2 separate regions of the Homo sapiens genome follow, and region 1 is linked to region 2. Evidence: promoter capture Hi-C in 16 types of primary human blood cells and fetal thymus (Javierre and others, 2016). All regions are on one chromosome and are shown on one strand. Each heading gives the region's core, a stretch centred on a gene start or on the middle of the fragment in contact. The rest is flanking DNA. Distances are from core to core; before and after follow the strand shown.

Region 1 (3,067 bases), core at 164-2,663, 400 kb after region 2:
AAACCCGGAATCTTTTTATATATATATATATATATATTTTTTTTTTTTTTTATTATACTTTAAGTCAACTGCCTCTTACTATGTAAGCTTGAATATGTATCATTTTATCTGTCCTGACTCTCATTTTCAAATAACAGATTTAATGTCTCTCTCATTTTAGAGCCTGCAACATGGTTGCATCATATATTTCTTAACTTGTTAATTTTAGTTATCATTATTATTTATTATTTACTGTGTACTTCGGAGTAGGTGAAACACTTTGCATATGTTATCTTATGTAATCTGCATAGCGAATGAATGAAGTGGACATTTCTACCCAGTTTTACAGAGGAGGAAAACTGCCTCACTGAAATATGAAGTAATTGACTCAAGGCAAAAACAGCTAATAAATGGTACTGTCAGGATTTGGATTCAGGTTCTTATGTTACTCAAGAAATAGCGGTTTTAAAGAGAGAGAGAGAAACCTCTCCATTGTGTAATAAAAATTCTAATGGGACTATTATTCTGAGCAAAAGAGAGAAAAACATTTTTACAAATCTTCTGGTCAATGTGTAGGCAAACTATAGACTAGCTGTTTAGTTAAATTTAAGTGTTCAGAAAAATTGGATTTGACACACATAGATACTACCATTTTTAAGCTTTTTTCTAAGGAGGACCATGATTAACCCATTCCTAAAGTGTGGAGAAAAATGTTTCTCATTAAAACAAGGTTTATGAAGAGACTGACAATTCTGAAAAAAAAAATGAAATTGAAATTGTCCAGTAATTGATCTTGTCATTCAAATAATTACTATCAGAAGAAAGACCCTTTCTCTTGCTGACCCTTGCCTAGAATCAAGAGACTGCCCTTGCCTTTGCCTGCATGTGACTTGGATGACTATTAGTCATTTTCATCAGTAGCTCAGAGATCTAAGAAAACTCTGTACAACAGATGCTACAGTTATTTTTCCTCCCCTGTGTTGCCTGTTAGTTGCAAATTAGAACAGAAGTTCCAAAAACCTTAATACTGCTTTTGGATGATGACAGGAGAGACTTCTTGAAAAAAAGGAGGATATGATTAAGGGATTTCCACAAAATCCCTTGTGGTCAGAAACCTGGAGGATGTAATATTTCTGCTTTTTTCAATATTAAAATAGAAATTTTCTTAAATAGGGAACTTGAACTGTTTAGATAGAATTTGAAAAATGTTAAGGTTATTTCTTTTGTGTGAGCTTTCTCCTTAAAAAAAAAAAAAAAAAAAAAAAAAAAGCTGGGCGTGGTGGCTGAAGCATGTCATCCCAGCACTTTGAGAGGCCAGCTTGAGGCCTCAAGAGGATAGCTTGAGGCCAGGTTTCCAAGACCAGCCTTGGCAACATAGCAAGATCTTATATCTACAAAAAACTTTTTAAAAATTTAGCCGGACATGGTGCTGTATACCTGTAGTACCAGATCCTTAGGAGGCTGAGGTGGGAGGATTGCTTGAGCCTAAGATTTCAAGGTTATAATGAGCTATGATTGCACCATTGCACTCCAGCCTGGGAGGCAGAGTGAAACCCTGACTCGAAAAAATAAAAAAGTAAAAATAAATTTAAAAATCATTTTTATGTGACTGATTTTTACTGGGTTATTCATTTTTCTCAGTACTGTAGAAATGAATTCATTGTTCTGTATTATAATAAAGTTTTGATATATGTGAATGAATATTAAAAACAGTATTCATGACATTTATACTACCTTTAGGGTGGAAAAATGGCATACTACGAAATGCGAGCTGAACATAGTGTGGATATAGATGTGGATATTGATTGGCCTATTGCAGAGCAAAGAGTATTAAGGTAAAAACAAATAAACCTTTATAACCTTTGTACTAAATCTTAATAATTATATTTCTAGATACTGATTTCTGATACTTCAGACATCTTAGGATCTTTGTAATTACTTTGTTCATGTGAGGAAGACATGTAAAATATGTGTTTACATGGCTTCAATAAAGTGAGAAACATTATCTGGCTAGACCACACTACTTTTACTTACTGTACTATATGTTAAAATATATATGTGAAGTAAATTTGGAGAGTAATGTTTGAATAATTGAATGGAGGGTGACATTTCATGTATTGGTTTAGCCAGATGAGAGGGAGTGATTAGTACTGCACTTGTACTCAAAGGTCTATTTTGGTTTCTTTTAGATATGGCTATTTTGGCAAAGAGAAGCTTAAGGAAATAAAACTTTTGGTTTGCAATATTGATGGATGTCTCACCAATGGCCACATTTATGTATCAGGAGACCAAAAAGAAATAATATCTTATGATGTAAAAGATGCTATTGGGATAAGTTTATTAAAGAAAAGTGGTATTGAGGTATGTGCTCCCTGAATATAGCAGTATTTTATAATATTTTGATTCAGGGTCAAAGAACATGCAAGGAATTAAGAGATTTAAATTTTTAGTATTAACTCTTAAAATATCTGAAATTTGGCCTTCATACGCCTAGAAAATTATTATACTATTTAGTTTTAGATGAGTAGAATTAGGAATTTGTTAATCAGCAAATAATATTTCTTGTTTATTCAGTAAATATAAACATAACTACTTTTAAATGGGAGCTATCTAATGTTTCCCAAAGGATCTTGCAGCAAGAAAGATTCCCTAGATAATAGGTGTACCATTTTAGAAAAGGACGATATCCTGTGGATTTTTAAAATCTAGCTTATTCTTATGAATGACATTTTTGATTCAAAATAACTTAACGTTTAAGTGTATTTTTTTAAATGAAAGCTAGCTAAGATAATTATAATTTACCAGAAATCCTAAATATGTATTGCTAAGCAGCACAAGAGAGAGGTTATAGACTTTCCTCTGGATAAATTGAATTATAGGAGAATCTTAGAGTAGTATCAGACAATATATGTTGTAATTTTTACCTGTAGATAGAATCCTTTCTATTGTAGAAAATAAAATACTGTGTCTCACCTTTATTGGGCTATGAGAAATAAAATGAGCTTTGTTTTAAAGCATCATGATTTTAATTCGACAGTCAGTTTTCTTACTTGGACCTTCAGAAAGTCAAAAGATGACTCGTTTGTGA
Region 2 (3,253 bases), core at 636-3,135:
CAATTATTACTTATAATTGTAGTAGCCCATTGTAATGTCCATGATTTTCACTTGTTTTTTACTTTTTATGTCGCATCTGAGGTCACCATACCTGTCTCAAACTGTACCAGAGCTTCCCAGTCTAGTTTTTAATTCTAATCTGCAATGGACTAAGCAATAAGTCTAGTCTATTAACTGTATACGTAAAGTAAGAGTTAGCAGGACTCAAAGTTGGAATAAAGCATCTGAATTTGGAGACAACTGTGTAACAACTATTTTATCTTATAGTTTTTTTTCCAAAAAATATTTCCTCCCATCTGTAAGGATAAATTAAAAGGAGATTCTTTCGCCTTTACAGATCACATTTACAGTTTCCTAGTGGACGTTAAAGAGAGAAGATGCAATGTTGTGCAAGTGCCTCCACAAATAGATGACCTTAAAATGAAATAAATTCAGACATGGCCTGCATTTTAAACAGGCTCAGAAGAAAGAATGCTGCATCTCTTTTTGAAGGACGACACACATGAATAGTTGTTCTGCACTTAAGTTTATTGTTGTTAGATGGTCTGTTTACGACCGTTTTGGTATACAGGGGGCCCAGGAAGCAGTGGAAAATGAAAATGAAGAAACAGTGGCTATATAAATACAGATTCGTTGTTCTGATAGACCTTTTAATTTAGAAAACTTCAGGAAGTACAATTTAAAGGCTCGAACCAGATTTTCTTTCAGATATTTCTGGAGAAAGTGCTTTTCTTCAATTTTTCCTTAAAAAGAGTTTTAAGAAATGAGAAGAAAATGGTCTGCATGATATACAGGCCTGTGCCAACATCAGAGTGCAGGCTGTAAGGAACAAGAACGACAAACGGTAAAAATCTCTGAGTCTTGGTCCCTTATGTCTCCTCACTGCTGTGGATATAAATCATTAGAAATAAAGGAGCGCCTTAATTTCAGGAACAAAGATCTTCTTTGCAGAATCTTTCTCACCGTAATCTTTTAAAAATTCAGGTTTTGCTTTTGAATTCCTCCCCTCCCCCCATTCCCCAGGCCCTTACTGCAGCTTGTACTGCTCGCGGTGCGCACAAACCATCTTTTCCTCAGGGCACCGGCAGCAAAGAACAGCAGATCACGAGGGCATGCAGAAGCTAGAGATCTCCCCGAGTAAGGTCTGTGGGGACAAGTCTAGGACTTCCTTACTCGGAGCACCCAAGGCTGGTAAAGTAAACGAAGCCCCTAAGCATCCAGAAAAGAGGCCCTGCAGGAAAGAACTGGCGCATGGCTCCTGGAAAGACCGTCAGAGCCGGGTAAAAATAAGTGCAGCGCCAAACGTGCTGGTCATCTAGGTGCCTTTCTCCTCATCCCAGCGAGTGCAAGGGCATTTCTCTATTACCGTGGCAATATATTCAAATATTCGAGGTAAAGATCGTCCAGCCTTCATAGGCCACCTGGTTCCGTCCCCCTCCCCCAGCTACTCGGGCACGTGTCCCGACTCCCGCCAGCAGGCCGTGGGGGTGATGTGGCCGCCATGAACCCACCAAGGACAAGTAGGGCCTGGTTTTAGCTGCAAATGCAACAAGTCTCTCCGCTGAGCCGCAGCTGCTACCCTCTGCCTTCTGCTCCTCCGCCAGGGCACGGCCCCCCCTGCGCCCCAAACTGAGCGGCAAAGTCAGGGCCCGCGGCCGGATGCTCAGAGCTAAAGGCCGCGGAGGACAGATGTGCTTCTTCCTCCTTCCCGCGTCTCCCCATACAAGTACTACCCCGCACGTCCCATCAGGCTTGCCTGTGGGCCAGGATTCAGGGTCCTGAGCCGAAACCTACCAGGAGAGAGAAGGCTCTGGAGACCTCTGTAACAGTCGTGCGGAGAAGACAAAGTCAGCTGCGTGCGTCTCCTCCGGCGCCGGCTCTGCAAGGAGGGAGGAGGGGGCGGGGCCCCACAACCACCGCAGCCTCTTAGGTTTCTCCATTGTGATTGGAAATCCGAGTACCGCCTACCCCTCCCCTCGGCTCGCTCAATCCCCTTCAAGGACAAGGGCTCAAGTATGCACACTCCCTCCCCCACCCTCCAGATGAGGAGGTCTCCTTCCAGAGGCTTCCGCTCTCAGCTGGTCTCACATCTCGCAGGCTCTTCAATGCGGAGGCCAAGTTATTTATAAAACTTGCCCATCCCCGACTCTTCTGGACTTTAACGCTCTTGTTCTATTAGATTTAGTACAAATAGAAATAAATTTCTTTCCTTCTTTTTTTTATTTTGAGACGGAGTCTCACTCTGTCGCCCAGGCTGGAGTGCAGTGGCGCGATCTCGGCTCACTGCAAGCTCCGCCTCCCGGGCTCACGACATTCTCCTGCCTCAGCCTCCCGAGTAGCTGGGACTACAGGCGCCCGCCACCTCGCCCGGCTAATTTTTTGTATTTTTAGTAGAGAGGGGGGTTTCACCGTGTTAGCCAGGATGGTCTCGATCTCCTGACCTCGTGATCCGCCCGCCTCGGCCTCCCAAAGTGCTGGGATTACAGGCCTGAGCCACCGCGCCCGGCCAGAAATAAATTTCTATGTTGCATTTCAGTTAAACTTTAAAGGACTTAAAAAAATACATCTGAATTTAGATCATCTCCGTTTTAAAGTTCATTTGATGAAAATGACTATTTTTTTCAACCTGTTTCAACAAACACGCAATGATTGCTTACTCGTTGCCTGACAAGACCAATGAGGCTTTGTCCCTGCCATCTGAAGTTCCCCTACAATTCCACCTGGTCTCAAGGTCAGGCTTTGCCCTCTAGGGGAAATGTGGGACCACTAAGTGAGATGCACTTTCTTTTTTAGTCCCTAATCGACTCCAAAGCTGGATGTTGTCATTCATTCTGTCTTCAACACTCAGCCAGTGCTTGGTACCTAAATATAGCATTGATGAATAAATGAATGAATGATAAATTGGAGGAATTCTGAAGAGTCTGGCTTCAGTTCTGTTTTCTTATAATTAAAATGCTTTCAAATATAGCCATCTCACAAACTTCCTGTATGTGAAGTGTTTTTTTTTGTAAATGCATATTTCTTGTATATGACCACTAATTCTATAATTATTGCTTCAGTTTATTCTCAGTGCCAAGCATTGGTAAAAAACATAAATATAAGATTATGCCCTTTGAGGTGTTCCTAGTCCATTGGAGACAGACAAGTAGGCAACCTATTTCAATTACAATAAGTGGCAATAGAAATTTGGTTAAAGTACAATAAAAATTCAGAGTAAAGAATCACTAAGAGAAGGGTTTGTTGAGAAGAATTC

What was found. The method cuts DNA at HindIII sites, captures the fragments that hold promoters and counts their contacts. A CHiCAGO score of 5 or more calls a contact.
Region 1: a fragment that was not itself captured here is called in contact with the fragment with the promoter of LDHB in region 2 in 4 of 17 cell types (naive CD4 T cells, fetal thymus, activated CD4 T cells and 1 more); the score reaches 5.9 in naive CD4 T cells.

The regions. Positions count from the first base shown.
Region 1 is chr12:22,059,113-22,062,179 of GRCh38, forward strand. CMAS (cytidine monophosphate N-acetylneuraminic acid synthetase) reads left to right here. Exons shown (of 8, transcript NM_018686.6): 5 at 1,720-1,814; 6 at 2,169-2,340. Among named protein-coding and RNA genes, the nearest start is that of CMAS, 14 kb to the left of the region's middle. The HindIII fragment of the contact is 1,555 bases long and covers 637-2,191 here.
Region 2 is chr12:21,655,957-21,659,209 of GRCh38, forward strand. LDHB (lactate dehydrogenase B) reads right to left here and starts at 1,886. Exons shown (of 8, transcript NM_002300.8): 1 at 1,795-1,886. RefSeq lists enhancers at 1,438-1,527, 1,558-1,807, 1,785-2,313, 2,188-2,367. The HindIII fragment of the contact is 8,571 bases long and covers 1-3,253 here.